6 separate regions of the Homo sapiens genome follow, and all the other regions are linked to region 3. Evidence: promoter capture Hi-C in 16 types of primary human blood cells and fetal thymus (Javierre and others, 2016). All regions are on one chromosome and are shown on one strand. The core of a region is centred on a gene start or on the middle of the fragment in contact, and the rest is flanking DNA. Distances in the headings are between cores, read along the strand shown.

Region 1 (2,700 bases), core at 107-2,606, 600 kb before region 3:
ACCATCTCATTTTGCTAAAAGGATAGGTAACATATTCTTTAATCTTTTATGATTTCGTGCTCAGATTCATTATATATGGTTCCTAAGTGGACAAATACTGAAGGTAAATATATATATATATATGCATAGGTGACTAGAAGGAAACAGATAATGTAGAAATGAAAAAATTATTAATTGGTAATTATAAGTGGTGTTATAAGTGTAAAAATGAAACTTTTGCAATTATCGAACAAAGAAGATGGCCATTTTCTCTTCATCAAAACTATAAGCTAAAGGTTTAAAAAAAATTCATCAGGTGTGCTGTATTTTGATGATGTCAGTTCAAGAAGAACAAGAATAATGATAAGTTAGATCCAATTAGAGATGTATTTGACATCTGGAATCAATATGTACAAGATGGATGTGTCTCTGGTTCATACATGACAATTGATGAAGCGTTAGTTGCATTTAGAAGACATTGAATACATATACATTCAAAACCAAAACTTTCTGATGAAATTTCACTGCTCCTTTATTTTTACTTCTGCAATATAAAATGACTTGAACATAAAAATAAAATTACATAGTCCATCTGACCCAGCTGGTGAATGGTGATGATTATTTTTTTTTTTGGCATTTGAAAAGTTAAGCTAGACCTTGAAGCTTATTTTAAAGTTTGGCAAATAAAAGGCAGAGGCAAGAGAATAGCTAGAAATATGTATGTGTGTACCCCCACATACACATATATATGTGTATATATGTAACATATAAACTATAGATGATATTTTATAAAATTTATATATCTAAATTGATTTATAAGTTTATACATCTACAAATTTTAACAGATATATACATATGAAATTTTGTCTGAAATTAAAGCTTGCCATTGGGAGATTTTATATGTAAATGTAAGTAGTGCTTATCGTATTTCTGTTTAGAAAGTAACTGGGTATTCATTGGAGATTAGGTTAGAGAAGATATTAAATGTAGGGATTTAATGAAGGATCACAGATGACATAGACTGGAGTAAAGGCATTTATAATAAAGAAGCTGAAACACCTAGGTGCAATGGATCATATTCTTTTGTTCATTCCTGAATTGATTTGTGTGTGAGATAATTTTTTGTGGCCTAAGAAATGGTTTTGGGCTGAGCATGGTGGCTCATGCCTGTAATCCCAGCACTTTGGGAGGCTGAGACACGCGGATCACTTGAGGTCGTGAGTTCAAGACCAGCCTGGCCAACATGGTGAAACTCCATTCCTACTAAAAATACAAAAAATTGGCTGGGCGTGGTGGCACGTGCCTGTAATCCCAGCTGTTCAGGAGGCTGAGGCAGGAGCATCACTTGAACCTTGGAGGCAAAGGTTGCAGTGAGCCAAGACTGCACCATTGCACTCCAGCCCAGGCAGCAGAATGAGACTCTGCCTCAACAAAACAACAACAAAAAAATGAAATGGTTTTGGAAGACATTTACAATAGTTTATTTCCTAGGTCACATTAAAAATGAACATGAAATGATATTAATTACTTAACAGTTTTTTTATCCTTTGGGGTTTTTTAACTATACCACTCTCTTATTGTTATACTATGAAATGTCCAAAGTGCTACTAGTACTTTTGTTTGAGGCAAATATTATTCAGAGACTAAGTTTGACCTTGAACATCACCTTGGATTTAATACAGGCTTTCAAGTAAATATTTGATTTTAGGAAAACCTATGTGTTGAGGCTTTCCTTCCAAGTAGAATGGAGTAGCTGGTAGCAAATTAGTACTTCTGCTTAGAGCAATGAGAAAATCAAGATAAAATATACATGTAACCATTCTGTATCAGAGTTGACCTTGGGGATGTATTTCAAGTCTCAGTTGTATCTGTAGTAAAGCTTATTCTTCCTCTGTTTTGTCCTAATTATATTGGTAATCACATTCAATATAAATTGACTAATTATTAAAATTGAATCACTAAGCTTGTCAGGCTGTATAAAACAAGTAAACCCCAATTATATGCTGCATTCAAGAGCCACATCTTAAATTAAATGGGAGGATGAAGCTAAAAGGATGAATAGATACACTGTCCTAACACTGAAAGGCAAACTGGTGTAGCTACTATATCCAATAAGGTAGACTATAAGATAAAGACTAAATATAGGTGGTCCATAACGTATGATGGTTCAACTTACAATTGTTTGACGTAACGGTGGTGCAAAAATGATACACATTCAGTAGAAGCTATGCTTTGAATTTTGATCTTTCTCTAGGCTAGTGATATGTAATAGAATACTCTATTGCAGTGTTGGGCAGTAGCAGCAAGCTGCAGTTTCCACTCAGCCAAGCAGTCATGAGGGTAAATAACCAACACTCTATAGTATATGAAATGTATTTTTGACTTAACAATATTTTTCACTTACAGTGGGTTTCTCAGGATATAGCCTCATTATAAAGTTAGGAGAATTTGTATAAAAGATGGATGTTTTATAATAATAAAAGGGTAATTGTATCAGGAAGTTTTCACTATCCTAAATCTGCATGCACATAGTGAGATAGTATATATAAAGCAAAAATTGATAGAAGCAAAAGAACTGGACAAATCCCCAAATATACTGGGAGAATTTATGATGCTGTCAGTAGTACCAACCATCAATAGCTGATAGAACAAGTAGATGACAAAAAAAAAAAAAGAGAGAGGTAGAGCACATTTTTACAGCAAGAGTAATAAGTGACTTAA
Region 2 (2,700 bases), core at 11-2,510, 620 kb before region 3:
AGTCTATCTCTGACCGCTCTCAAATCTCATATCCTCACATTTCAAAACCAGTCATGCCTTCCCAACAGTCCCCCAAAGTTTTAACTCATTTCAGCTTTAACTCAAAAGTCCACAGTCCAAAGTCTCACCTGAGACAAGGCAAGTCCCTTCTGCCTATAAGCCTGTAAAATCAGAAGCAACTTAGTTACTTCCTAGATACAATGGAGGTACAGGCATTGGGTAAATACAACCATTCCAAATGGGAGAAATTGGCCAAAACAAAGGGGCTACAGGCCCCATGCCAGTCCCAAATCCAGCAGGGCTATCAAATCTTTTTTTTTGAGAGAGAGAGTCTAACTCTGTCGCCCAGGCTGGAGTGCACTGGCGTGATCTTGGCTCACTGCAAGCTCTGCCTCCCGGGTTCACGCCATTCTCCTGCCTCAGCCTCCTGAGCAGCTGGGACTACAAGCATCCACCACCAAGCCCAGCCAATTTTTTTTTTTTTTTTTGTATTTTTAGTAGAGATGGGGTTTCACTGTGTTAGCCAGGGTGGTCTCGATTTCCTGACCTCATGATCCGCCTGCCTCGGCCTCCCAAAGTGCTGGGATTACAGGCATGAGCCACTGCACCCAGCCAATTTTTTTTTTTCGTATTTGTAGTAGAGATGGGATTTCACCATGTTAGCCAGGATGGTCTCTATCTCCTGACCTCGTGATCCACCTGCCTCGGCCTCCCAAAGTGCTGGGATTACAGATGTGAGCCACAGTGCCTGGCCAGGGCTGTCAAATCTTTTTTTTTTTTTTGAGACAGAGTCTCCCTCTGTCGCCCAGGCTAGAGTGCAATGGCACGATCTCAGCTCACTGCCAGCTCCACCCCCTGGGTTCACACCATTCTCCTGCCTCAGTCTCCTGAGTAGCTGGGACTACAGGCACCCGCCACCATGCCCAGCTAATTTTTTGTATTTTAGTAGAGACGGGGTTTCACCATGTTAGCCAGGATGGTCTCGATCTCCTGACCTTGTGATCCACCGCCTCGGCCTCCCAAAATGCTGGGATTACAGGCGTGAGCCACCGCACCCAGCCGGCTGTGAAATCTTAAAGCTCCAAAATGATCTCCTTTGACTCCATATCTCATGTCCGGGTCATGCTGATGCAAGAGGTGGGTTCTCATGGTCTGGGCAGCTCCACCCCTGTGTCTCTGCAGGATACAGCCTCCATCCCAGCTGCTTTCATTGGCTAGTAGTGACTGTCTGTGGCTTTTCCAGGCACACAGTGCTGTCGGTGGATCTGCCATTATGGGGTCTGGAGGATGGTGGCCCTTTCTCACAGTTCCACTAGGTTGGAGCCCCAGTAGGAACTCCATGTGGGTGATTCAACCCCACATTTCTTTTCTGCACTGCCCTAGCAGAGGTTCTTCATGAGCGCCCCACCCCTGCAGCAAACTTCTGCCTGGACATCCAGGTATTTACGTACATCCTGTGAAATCCAGGTGGAGGCTCCCAAACCTCAGTTCTTGACTTCTATGCACTTGCAGGCTCAACACCACATGAAAGCTGCCAAGGCCTGGGGCTTGAACCCTCTGAACGCATGGCCTGAGCTTATACTGGCCCCTTTCAGTCATGGCTGGAGCAGCTGGGATGCAGGGCACCACCTTTCTGGACTGCACACACCATGGGGACCCTTGGCCCGGCCCACAAAACCATGTTTTCCTCCTAGGCCTTTGAGCCTGTGATGGGAGGGGCTGCCATGAAGACCTGTGACATGTCCTGGAGACATTTTCCCCATTGTCTAGGGGATTAACATTCAGCTCCTCATTACTTTTGCAAATTTCTGCATCCGGCTTGAATTTCTCCTCAGAAAATGGGATTTTCTTTTCTTTCGCATTGTCAGGCTACAAGTTTTCCAAACTTTTATGCTCTGTTTCCCTTTTAAAACTGAATGCCTTTAACAGCACCCAAGTCATGTCTTGAATGCTTTACTGCTTAGAAATTTCTTCCATCAGATACCCTAAATCATCTCTCTCAAGTTCAAAGTTCCACAGATCTCTGGGGCAGGGGCAAAAAGCTGCCAGTCTCTTTGCCAAAACATAGCAAGAGTCACCTTTGCTCCAGTTTCCAACAAGTTCCTCATCTCCTTGTGAGACCACCTCAGCCTGTACCTTTTTGTTCATATCACTATCAGCATTTTTGTCAAAGCCATTCAACAAATCTCTAGGAAGTTCCAAACTTTCCCAGATTTTCCTGTCTTCTTCTGAGCCCTCCAAACTGTCCCAATCTCTGCCTGTTATCCAGTTCCAAACTCGCTTCCACATTTTCATGTATGTTTTCAGCAGCACCCCATTCTACTGGTACCAATTTACTGTATTAATCCATTTTCATGCTGCTGATAAAGACATACCTGAGACTGGGCAATTTATAAAAGAAAGAGGTTTAATGGACTTACAGTTCTTCATGACTGGGGAGGCCTCACAATCATGGCAGAAGGCAAAGAGGAGCTTGTATGGCAGTGGACAAAGTCACCTCTTATATGGCAGTGGACAAAGAGAGAACTTGTGCAGGGAAACTCCCATTTTTAAAACAATCAGATTTCATGAGACTCATTCACTATAATGAGGACAGCACACGAAAGACCCACCCCCATAATTCAATCACCTCCGACCAGGTTCCTCCCAAGACATGTGGGAATTGTAGGAGTTACAATTGAGGATGAGATTTGGGTGGGG
Region 3 (2,700 bases), core at 122-2,621:
GCCTACTGAGAAATTTTTGATGGCAGGAGCATTAAGGTCTTTAGTGGCATGCAGCAGAGTTCTGTCCTCCGCTCTGTCTTATTAAACACTTGGACAGAATGCTGATCAGATTTGAGAAGGATAACAAATCTGGGAAGGGTAGGCATCCCCAAAGATCTTCACCACCAGGAACAACGGTTTGCTTCGTTCAGGCCATCACAGTGTCCTTAGTGAGGGACACCACAACCCATAGGCTGTCCAGAGGAGCGTAATGGGGAAGAATGTGAAAGAGCTTGAAAATCAGGACCTGAGGACATTGCGAGATGGAAAAACACCGTGGGACAAAATGAGGAAAACCGAGAGAAATGGAAATGGCATATACGAAGGCTTTGAGGGAGGACTGTGCCCCTGGGGGAAACTGTGCCCCCGGGCTGGAGTCACAGGCATAGTTTGGCCTCATAGAAGGAGAGGTCGATTAACAAACCTTGCAAGTGTTCAAATGTGGAATGGGCTTGCTCGGAAGGTACTGTCAAGACAGAGACCATCCGAGGGCTTTTATTGCAAGTGTCGAGACACATTGCTGGTGTTTCTCCTTAGAACGTCCTCCAATCTGCTCTGACTTCCGCCCGCACCCGCCTGAGTCCTGCCCCATTCCAAGGGTGGCACATCCAGGTCCCGAGGGCGCCAGCCATGCCCGGAGCACGGGCTGATCTGCGTAACTCTGTCCCTTCGGGAGACTTCTGGGAAATAGTTCTAGTCCTTGCTATCCTTGCTTTCTGGTTTTCAGAAATCAGTGCAGCTGCTGGCTTTATGCAGTCTTCTGCGGGACACTGCACACATCCAGGTGTTTATGTCATTTTTTAAAAAAAACAAATGTTAGATTGGGTGACTAACTTGACAGGACATGAGGAATCTCTTCAAGAGGAATCAGATTTTCTTCAGGATACGTCATCCAGAGACAAGAGCCAAGGGATGTAGAAACCCAGGGAAGCCTCGCGTCCCCACAAAGCCCGCCGGCCAAATCCCGAAGGGGCTCTACCGGGCCAGCTAGCCCGGAGCAGTCCGCGTTTTAGACTTAGAGGCGCGCGACTGCGCGCACCCGGCTGGAGCTGCGGAGAGGACCAATGAGCGGGCGCTCTCTCCGCTCCGGCTCGGGATTGGGCAAGCCGCGCCAGCCTCTCACGGGCGGGGTGGGACTCGGATCCGCGCGCCCACTGCGCCAGAGTCCCGGGGGCGCGTGCGCGGTCTCGCGGCGGCCGCAGGGGCCGGTCTCGCGCGGTCTAGAAGTGGAGTTGCTGGCGGCTGCGGCGGTGACGGCGGCGACGGAGGAGGCAGGCGGTGGGGCGGGGGCGGGGACTAAGGATTCTGAGGTGGGGAGTCGGGAGTTTCTGGATTCTTTATCCGGAATTTCAAGGGCCGCCGGAGGGCTGTCGCTTCTGCAGTGCGTAGGAGCGGCCGGGGCGGGAGGCTCCGCGGAGCCGAGGCGTGGAGGTAAGAGGCGGATCGGCGGCGGCTGGGCTGTAGAGATCTTAATCAACAGGTCCCTGGGAGCGCGGCGGGGGAGGGGCGGGCGGCCGGGCTCCCCTTCCCCCACACGCTGCGCAAACTCCGGCCAGCGGGAGACCCCTGGCAGCCAGGCGGGCTTCCTCAGGCGCGCGAGCTGCGGCCGTGGAGGGTGTGAGCCCAACCTTTGTCCCTCGGAGCAACGCTGCCTGCGCGGTGCCCGCTCCTTCTGCTTGGCTGGGCATGCACCTTGGCGCGGGCCACAGCCAGCCGAGCCCGAGGTGCAGGGGGCGCGGCGGGGAGTCGTCTGCCCCCTGCGCCCTCTCTCCGAGGTCGCGACGCGCGGGACTCTCCCGGCCGGGTCTGGGAAATCGGCGAGGGAACGCTTTCCTTTAGAAGTCAGAATGTAGTCAGCGTTCCTCTGCCTGACTCAGCTGCTGGTATTCTGCTGCTCATTGCGTTCTTAAACACGCAAACAGTTCCTGCTTCCTTGTGACCACTTTAAAAGAAAAGCCTAGTTTTGTTCATGGTTTCTGATACTTTAAGGTTGCACGTTGAACTTTGAAGCATGTAAATTGTTATAACCTACGTTTAATGAAGTTTGCTTTAAACGATCTTTGTAGTAAATTATGTAACTTTCTAATGATCATAACTCACCTTCTGTTGATTGACATACAGTAATGTGTACGGAATGTAGGTTTCGGTCAAAAGGTTTTTCTTGGCAGTTTATGCTAAAATTAAAATCTGATGGCTAGGAAGTTTTTAGATGTAGTATGGAGTGTGTGTTTTGTCTCCATACTCGTTTAGAATAGTAAGAATTTAGATTTGGAAAGTCAGTTGAACAAAAATTTTGAAATTTTGATTTGACTGACGCAGTGAAAGGTGTTAATATTTCTGATTTTTTAAAAAAGCAATATCATGTTTTAATGATAGTTTACTAATTATGCTTTTGGATTATACCAGAAGTTAATAACCTGTTAAATTATGCAATAGGAACAAATGACGTGTTGGTTATTGGTGTCTTTGAAGTATTGGTGGTAATGAAACTTATTAAATAAGCTTCCTTGAATTAAGAACTACGATTTTTTTTTTTTACTAGATCCCTGTGGACATAGCTATTGTGGATAGGTTTTATAGGCTTTCTATTTGCGGCAGGATGAGCTATTAAATTATAATGTAAGAGATTTATAGATAAAACAGGCAAAAATAGGAAAAGCA
Region 4 (2,700 bases), core at 185-2,684, 760 kb before region 3:
TTCAATTCAGCAGAGGAGCTCAGACTTCAACTGACGGTCCTTCAGCCTTTGGAAAATGGATGTGGGTAGCAGTTTCCCCTCTGTACGAGTATCTCTGGTGTAGTTGGGGAATCCAAGCTCAATTCTGATCATCCGGTTACTTATTGGAAGTAGTGTGAGTCATGATAATTGAAGGTTGTTGGCTAAGCATGGTTGTCATGCTAAGTTTCCATATGTCAGCCTTCTTCAACGTCTGTATCTTTGCTAAATAGACCAAAACTTACAATATATAATTAAATGTTACATTATATGCATCATCAAAACTAGGCCAGTCTATTTATACGGAAATTGAGTATCTTGCTAACTTACTATTTTGATTTGAAGATAGATGTTGGCACTCAAAGAATTATTATTATTATTGTATAAATAATATAATGGCTATATGGTATACTGGAAAAATCACCAAAATGGGAATAAAGAGTCAAATTCGAGACTCAACTCTGCTATTAACTAGTTATATAATGTTAGATTAGTTTTAAAATCACCCAGTATTTGATTTCGGTTTTTAAATTTACTAAACTGTCCTCTGGTTCTAAAATTCCACAAATTAAAAATGTCTTGATATAACTTATTACCCATTTACTATTAAAAATGCACTTTAAAAGATGATAGGTAGCATAGTAGTTGCTATGACATTATCTGTAGGAGTTAATGTAAGTCACCTAGTGGTGTGATGCTGATAAATGTTTTCAACAACCAGCTCTCTGGTGAAAACAGCTCGGATATGTATCTTTGGCCTGGTTCCAGAGTGTGACTATTCACCCCAGATGATTTAAAGTCACTGAATGTGGAATTGGAAACAGATAGGCACAATCATCTCACAAGCCAGTGTAAGCTGGCTCTGGCACAATACTGGCCCTGCATTTATATGGTATTCAAGGAAAAATATATTCAGCTGAAGTAACAAACAATCTAGCTATCAGTGGCTTAAACAATAAAGGAATATATATTTTTTTCCATGTAAAAGAAGTCTGGACGTAGCGGTTCAAAGTTTGTTTCAGCAGTTCCACCATCTCAGGGTATTGGGTCAGTTTCTCCATAATTCTCTTGGCCTTCTACCTTATTGTTACAAAACAGCCAGAGTAGCTCCAAGCTTCCTGTCCTTTTAGGACCATATCCAAAGTAGAAAAGACATTGTAAAGAAAATATACTTTTTACTTGTCATTGTTTTCCTCCTTTTATTAAAGAGAAAGAAAAAATTTGCCCAGAAACCCCAGAAGGCTTCACCTCATGTTTCACTAGCCAGGACTGAATCCCATGTCCATTCTCAGACCTGTCACTGGCAAAGAGGATGTGAATTGCCACAGTTGGTTCAGATCAATTGTGATTTTAACCCTGGGACTGAACATATGGACAAAAGAGGAAGTAACATTGATGTAGGCAAATAATAGTGTTGGCTACATGTAAGAAAAGTTTCAAGCTGAAAAATGCTGATACTTGCAACTACCTACTCCAATCCAATTTGTTAATTATTGAGTCTATTCAATGGGCAAGACAAAAGAATGTATCTATCTCTCTCTTGGGCATGTCATAATCACATGCCCAAGAGTGGATTTATAAAGGAAGTCCCAGCATAGTCATTAAGACGTTTAACCTTTTTAAACTTCTTTATGAAATTGGGAGAGTTATATTTTAAAATGTCAATCTATATCATAATTTAACTTACAAAAATTTTTAATTAATGTGAACACCTTAGATCAAGCTTTTTGACCATTTGGACAAAGGAGTAACTAGTCCTGATTTAATTTAAAGATTTAGAGTTAATATCCTAATTCAGGGATTTATTATCATGATATATTACTATATGTAATGGCCTTCATTTAATTTTTAGTAAACGCTGCTTGGGTTATAGACCAGTTTCTAATACATGTACTCAAGTAATAAAACTTCATTTATTTAAAATGATTTTGTGGTTCATAAATAGTATTTCATTTGATATCTCATTTTATAACATTCAGAACGTTTGCCACAGTGCATCCAAACTGAAATTGGAAAGGGAGTCAGATCTGGTATATTAAACAAGTCTCAGAATAAAAATTTTTTTTACATGGAAAATGACCAGCTTATAAAGCCAGAAGATTCTCAGAGTTGTCACCTAGGGCTTACACAGCCTTTAAAAAATATACAGAACCTGTTCAGACTCTGCTTCTTTATATTTTCCTAATTATCATTTATTTATATATCATTTTTTATTTGCAAATACAAATGCAAATAAAAGATGGAAAAATGCTACTATACAGAAAAAAGGCCTAATATGACAAATGTCATTATTGAAGCAGCATATGGGGCAAGGGTACATAATTTGGTTATTTTTATTTTGTAGTGCCTAATATTGTAGATGGTTATTGTTAAATTGAGAAAATTATACCAGTGGCATACTTTAGGTTGTTCAATCATTTCAGTAGAGGTGGCAGATGAGCCTATATGAGTAGCTAACGCAGAACTAGATAATTTTTGCTCAGTTTAGACTATGGAGACTACTTTTTATTTTGGCTGTGGAATATGACTAGATTATCTAATTTGAGATGTATTATATAACCCAGCCCTTTACAAATTTTATATTTTATCTATTTAGTACTTTTCTATGTCCCCTATAATGCCTAATCATAGGTGTCAAGAATATTTGTTCTTTTGGGTTTTCTCATTTTATTTTAAAAGTGT
Region 5 (2,700 bases), core at 87-2,586, 880 kb before region 3:
AATTTTTTGTGTTTTTAGTGGAGACCGGGTTTCACCGTGTTAGCCAGGATGGTCTTGATCTCCTGACCTCGTGATCCACCTGCCTCGGCCTCCCAAAGTGCTGGGATTACAGGCATGAGCCACCGCCCCCGGCCAAGAGGCAACCTTTTCTAAACCACTCAAAGCACAGGATGTCTTGTTCCAGCTTTCTCCTGGGACCAGGAGGCTTACTTATCTGACATTTACATAACCAAGGAAGCCTACTGAAGCCTTCTTTGAAGAACAAGGAACATTTACTTCAAAGTGATTCTCTATTCTCAACCTGATTGAATCAAATGGTACTGAAAAAACAAGAAGAAAAACCCCTCGAATTTAATCAAATTTAATTAAAAGTTTGTGCACCCCTTTTAATAGAGGATACATACCCTGCTACACTAACAACCTTAGAGATTGCCTCACTGCATTAACATCCATGAAGGCAATCAATTGGCAAATTTGATCATTCCCTTCGTTTCTAGCTCACAGATGGGAAAACTGAAAAGAATTGTGCAGCTGTGTCTGAAAGTATGTAAATTACTCAGCTCCCTCAAACTTGTTCTTGCTTTTTAAGTGAGCTTAAATCTGGATAAGCCCAACTTCCCCCTCTTTTTCCCATGTTCTGACCACCAGATAGATTGCATATATCATAGCAAACACCTTCTCCTGTCATTTTCCAACTGTGAGAACCTGTAGAAAGCAGGAGCAGAATGTGGAAAAAAATCATTAAAATCTGACAAATAGTTTTTTAAAAGCAAATCTTCCAGGTGTTGTTCTCTAACCTCAAAATGCATAAGCCAGAGGATTATGCTTGAAGATGCGCCTTTTTTTTTTTTTAATTCCCATTTGTCCAGGTTAAAGGAAAATTCCCCAACCACTAACAGGCATCATTAGTTTTCATTTGCTGAGCACCCAATGGATGGATCAGCCTCTTGAGTTGGGTGCTCTACTGCACCACCTGCTATGATCTCTCCAGGTGTATCTGCAAATGACTCTTGAGCTAACAAGCCTGAAGTTTTTCTGCTCATCAGAAGGGCACTTAAAGAAATTACCCATTTGCCTAGAACTGGAGGCAGCTGCAGTCACTGGTATCCCAGATGGTCCCACTTTTTAGCATTACAAATCCTAGAAGAACCTGACAGTACAATAGAGCTCTCACCCCAGCATCCACCTTCTCACTTGCTTCTCAAAGGCAAGATGTCAAAGATGCACTCGTAGTCATTTTCAAGCTTTAGAGCTTTTGGTACCTATCAGAGAATAAGCGCAGCCCAAATACATCAGATGCCATTTGTGAGTGCATGCCAAAAATACCTTTGGTAAATTCCAAGATGCGATTCTTAAACTTGATGAAATATTAGTGTAATTGTATGAACTCGCCACAAGATGGCAGGCTTTAACTTCCTAAAGGCAACCTAAGCTTTTTTTTTTTTTTTTTTTGGCTTTGATGCCTGTAGGGTTGGGGGGGACACTGAAATGACAAGCTGTGGGCAGAGGCATCTACTCGTTTATTAATATTACCAGGCACAGCTTGAGGAGATCTCACATCACTTTAGGGAGCTGATTTGTTTTGGCATTTGGTTGAAGAAGAATTATTCCCTAATCATTTGTCAGGTGAGATGCTTTTAAATTTTAGCTCTTGCCCTCAGAGAAAACAATGTCTGCCAGAAAGATTCACAGCAGGGGCATGTGTATATGTGCAGAATATTCACCGGCATGTTAACAACACAGCAATGTTGTTTTCCTGGAGTTTCAGAGAATAAAGAATTAACCCAGGGACAAAATAAATGTTAATATACATAACTGAAACACACAAACAAATCAGAGGGGGGAAATCCTATTAATAGTAGCTCGCAAATACTATTTCCAACTATGTTTATAATGTTCACCATTAATCCTGCTTTCTCTTTGTTACTTCTAATGACTCACCTACTAAGAGAGTCAAGAAAATAAAGATGCAAAAATCTGTATTTTAAGATGTCCAGCCATATCTTCAAAAAGCAGAAAACAGAAAATCTGTTGCAACTTGTTTAGAAAGAGAGAATTATGCACTCGTACCCGTGGGGAAATCTACCAGTTAGGGAGAGGACCAACTAAGGCTGGAAACAAATGAGGACAGGGACCCACACAGGGGATGGTGGTTCAAACAGAAATAATCTAGGATCTCTTGAACAAAATGAGGAAGTAATTTGGTTGCATTTGGATCAAGCAGATTTCAGAGCAATAAGAATCAGGTAAGGGCAACAGAGAGAGTTAATAGGGGGCATTTTAGACTCACAATTAAGATATAATTTCCTCAGGGCCTTGGAAATAACAATAGCTTTCAGAAGGTCATTAGCACGCAGACTTGGAGATTACTTCAGCCCATCATGTTCATAAAGACGCACTCACGGGTCCACCCCACAAGAGCCAGTAATTAGATTCTACCACTCCCTGTCCCAAGCAGTCTTGCACAGTGACCGTTAACCTCGGCCCCAGAGGTGGGAGAAGTGATCCGAGAATGCTGTCTGCACAGGTCAGGGCTCATAAAGGCAGTAGCAATTAACCTCCCTGCAAGCGTGTGTCTGCCTGGGAGGGGTGGGGGAGTGCGCTTGGCAAATTAAAATGCATTTATAAACAGTAGGTTAGAAGAGCTCAGAGGAAGAAGAACCTTGTAATGAGTGATGGTTATTAATGATCATTATTATC
Region 6 (2,700 bases), core at 118-2,617, 840 kb before region 3:
TCACTGCTTTTCCCAGAATATATTAATTTCTTCCAAGCCTATGGATTCCCCTCCTCAAGCCTTCCAGCTCCTGCCAGCTTTGTTCTCTTTGTTCATCTTCTTCTGGGCCATTGCACTGTCTACTTGAGTTAGCCTGTAATATCATATTTGCCAGCAGGTGCTGCCATTTGCCACAGGATTTGCCAATTTTCAAAATTCCCTAAATCTGAGACTCCAGATTGTGTAAAATAGTACAGTGCCTAATTTATCAACTTGGCAGGTTTGAAGTGCTATAAAATCAGTTACTTAAAATGAGTGATACTTGTGCTGCATAATTTTAATGAGCAGAGCTCCACTGCTCTATTAAGACAACAGGGGACCACATTGAGAAAACAAGCAGCAAGAATGTGAGGTTAAAAGAATAACAGGAAAACCCAGTGGGGACAACATGTTCAATAAACAACTGACTTTCTCATTGACTCATCTTAGTATCTTTCATATCTGTCCTTCATTTCCATTTCCACACGAAGTCAGCCCTTTATTACCTCATATGAAAATTAATCCAGTATCTGTAGGTCTTTTCTCCCTGTCCCCAGGCTCTTCCCACTCCTAGCCATCTTGTGTATTGCTGGAATAACCCTCCTAGCATCACACTAAAAACCTTTAATGATGTCCAAATGCCATCATCAAGGCAGTCCTCTGCAGTGTGGCACACCAGGCCCAATAATGCAGTCTCAAATTACCTGTCCAAGCTTACTTTCAATTGTTCCCAGATTCTCCACTTTGACAAGGCAGGGGTTTGTATTCTTCCCTGCAGATAAACTCATTTCCATCTTAGTACCTTTGTGTCTGCTAATCTACCACCTTCCTTCTCTTAATTCCTTAGTCACTGCTATTGCTATATTAATTTCCCAGGAGTAACTAAATGCATGGAATATTGCTGGTTCATATAAACCCTTCTCCCACTATCCCTGGGAACATCTGGAATACAGGACAAGTATTCTACAACAAGACAGTATTAATGAAATACAACACTCTATAACATTTATATAATGCATTAAATAAGTAGACAACATGCAGATAATTCCTGGGAGATGTCGGTCAGCACAAGCCCTTCTATGTACCCACAGTCATTTTTGCATTCCCAGCTGAAATGTGATTTTGAAGCAGTCTCATCTCAGGACTTGTCTTGACTGCACGAGTGGAATCTCAGAGGTAGCTGGCAAATCCTCTGCTCCATGTAAAGCACCATGTTTCTTCTCTGCAGCCCAACCTGCGGTTTCCTAATCTCCTGACTTCCTGAAAGTCACAGGCTATACTATGTTGTTGTCTGCCCCACTGCTCTGGACCTAAGGCACGGAAATCATAGCATCCACTGGTATCACCAGAGGGAAGGGTGCTCCCAGAATGTTCCCCTTTTCTATATTTTCATATGCTGACCAGACTCACTTTCCAATTCCAGGTAGTCCTCTAAGGGTTTTCCTGCCCTCTCAGTCAGCCAGCACCTCTCTGTCTCTTCTATGATACACCCCTGATTTCCCGTTTTGGGATGAAATATGGTCTATTTAGAATGAGAACCAAAAGGTTTAGATTCAAGTTCTAGTTCTGCTACTTCCTAGCTGATGTATTTGAACCTCTGTTTCCTCAGAGGTAAAATGGAAATGATAATTTCTACAAATCTGAGAAGTGAGCTCAAAAAGGAGTAATACATGTGAGGTACATTGAAAACTATAAAGTGCCATATGCAAGTAAGATGACACGTATTTCTGCACTCAGTAGCAGGCACAAACGTATAGTACACATCCTGAGGCGGAGATATTAGGAACAAAGCTAAAACCCTGGCAGGAAGGAAGTACTCCCTGGACGATTTTTTTTTAACCTCGGTAGGTTACAGAACCAAGACTTCATCCACCAGCTCTATCTGAATGCCATCTAGTGGACACAAAGTTTTTGTGAGAAGTACTGCAGACATAAGTGATGGTTCATAAGGCATTAGCCTCTGTTGGTATTGCTAATACACAAGGTAAGCTTTCACCTTAGCTGGACACCTATGAGGTTCAATATAAAGAATTCCAGGGAAGGTCCTGATTTGTGATTCTCACTCCAGCCCCCATGACACCCAAAATTTCATCATCAGAGCTTCATATTTTTCCCGAGCATCAGGGGATTTTAACTCTTCCAATGTCTTTTATCAAAATTGAAAGGCCCATGGGCGAACATGCCCTTAGATCTCTTTCATCTCATACCTCAGCAGATTTTAGCTGAAGGTAAATGAAAAAGATCTTACAGGAATAGAAATCAAGAAGGGCAGGGCAAAGTGGAGGACCTTGGAGAAATATGAGAGGGTCAAAGAGACCGGGGTAACCAAAAACAAACTCCATACTCTCCCTAGCTTTGCTTTCACCAGGTCTTGTTAATCAAATGTTGTTTGGCTAACTTTAATTCTTTTTGCATCCTGCAGCTTACAATTAGCCTTGATGGCTGATGAAGCCCATATTCAAGCAAAAGTAGAAAGAATGCATTTTTTTAAGTTTTAAATTTATCTCTGAAGCCATCTCAGCACATACAGGGGCTGCAGGCAGGGAGTAGTCAGTGGTGGCAGAGGAGACTGCTTTGTGGTTTGCATCCAAAGTCAATGGGGCTTCCCACTAGCAGCCCTAGCTTAGCAGCATGGCACTGGAGGCATGCCCCTTTGGAAATGTGTTGGAGCCCTGCTTAGCT

What was found. The method cuts DNA at HindIII sites, captures the fragments that hold promoters and counts their contacts. A CHiCAGO score of 5 or more calls a contact.
Region 1: a fragment that was not itself captured here is called in contact with the fragment with the promoter of PALS1 in region 3 in 1 of 17 cell types (endothelial precursors); the score reaches 6.7 in endothelial precursors.
Region 2: a fragment that was not itself captured here is called in contact with the fragment with the promoter of PALS1 in region 3 in 1 of 17 cell types (M2 macrophages); the score reaches 5.4 in M2 macrophages.
Region 4: a contact is called between a fragment that was not itself captured here and the fragment with the promoter of PALS1 in region 3, in 4 of 17 cell types (erythroblasts, total B cells, M0 macrophages and 1 more). The highest score is 8.5, in erythroblasts.
Region 5: a fragment that was not itself captured here is called in contact with the fragment with the promoter of PALS1 in region 3 in 15 of 17 cell types (fetal thymus, megakaryocytes, naive CD8 T cells and 12 more); the score reaches 11.4 in fetal thymus.
Region 6: a fragment that was not itself captured here is called in contact with the fragment with the promoter of PALS1 in region 3 in 1 of 17 cell types (erythroblasts); the score reaches 8.9 in erythroblasts.

What each region holds. Positions count from the first base shown.
Region 1 is chr14:66,639,015-66,641,714 of GRCh38, forward strand. All of the region lies in intron 1 of GPHN (gephyrin), which reads left to right. Among named protein-coding and RNA genes, the nearest start is that of GPHN, 130 kb to the left of the region's middle. The HindIII fragment of the contact is 1,000 bases long and covers 857-1,856 here.
Region 2 is chr14:66,620,661-66,623,360 of GRCh38, forward strand. The region is part of intron 1 of GPHN (gephyrin); the gene reads left to right. Among named protein-coding and RNA genes, the nearest start is that of GPHN, 110 kb to the left of the region's middle. The HindIII fragment of the contact is 7,774 bases long and covers 1-2,700 here.
Region 3 is chr14:67,240,064-67,242,763 of GRCh38, forward strand. PALS1 (protein associated with LIN7 1, MAGUK p55 family member) reads left to right here and starts at 1,372. Exons shown (of 15, transcript NM_022474.4): 1 at 1,372-1,470. It overlaps LOC124903330 (a long non-coding RNA gene), which reads right to left and starts at 1,346. Exons shown (of 2, transcript XR_007064217.1): 1 at 1-1,346. It also overlaps a transcript of GPHN not described here. RefSeq lists an enhancer at 724-1,003 and a silencer at 984-1,953. The HindIII fragment of the contact is 3,073 bases long and covers 1-2,539 here.
Region 4 is chr14:66,476,394-66,479,093 of GRCh38, forward strand. No RefSeq gene overlaps it. Among named protein-coding and RNA genes, the nearest start is that of CCDC196, 8.6 kb to the right of the region's middle. The HindIII fragment of the contact is 609 bases long and covers 1,131-1,739 here.
Region 5 is chr14:66,358,222-66,360,921 of GRCh38, forward strand. No RefSeq gene overlaps it. Among named protein-coding and RNA genes, the nearest start is that of CCDC196, 130 kb to the right of the region's middle. The HindIII fragment of the contact is 188 bases long and covers 1,243-1,430 here.
Region 6 is chr14:66,401,488-66,404,187 of GRCh38, forward strand. No RefSeq gene overlaps it. Among named protein-coding and RNA genes, the nearest start is that of CCDC196, 84 kb to the right of the region's middle. The HindIII fragment of the contact is 1,276 bases long and covers 730-2,005 here.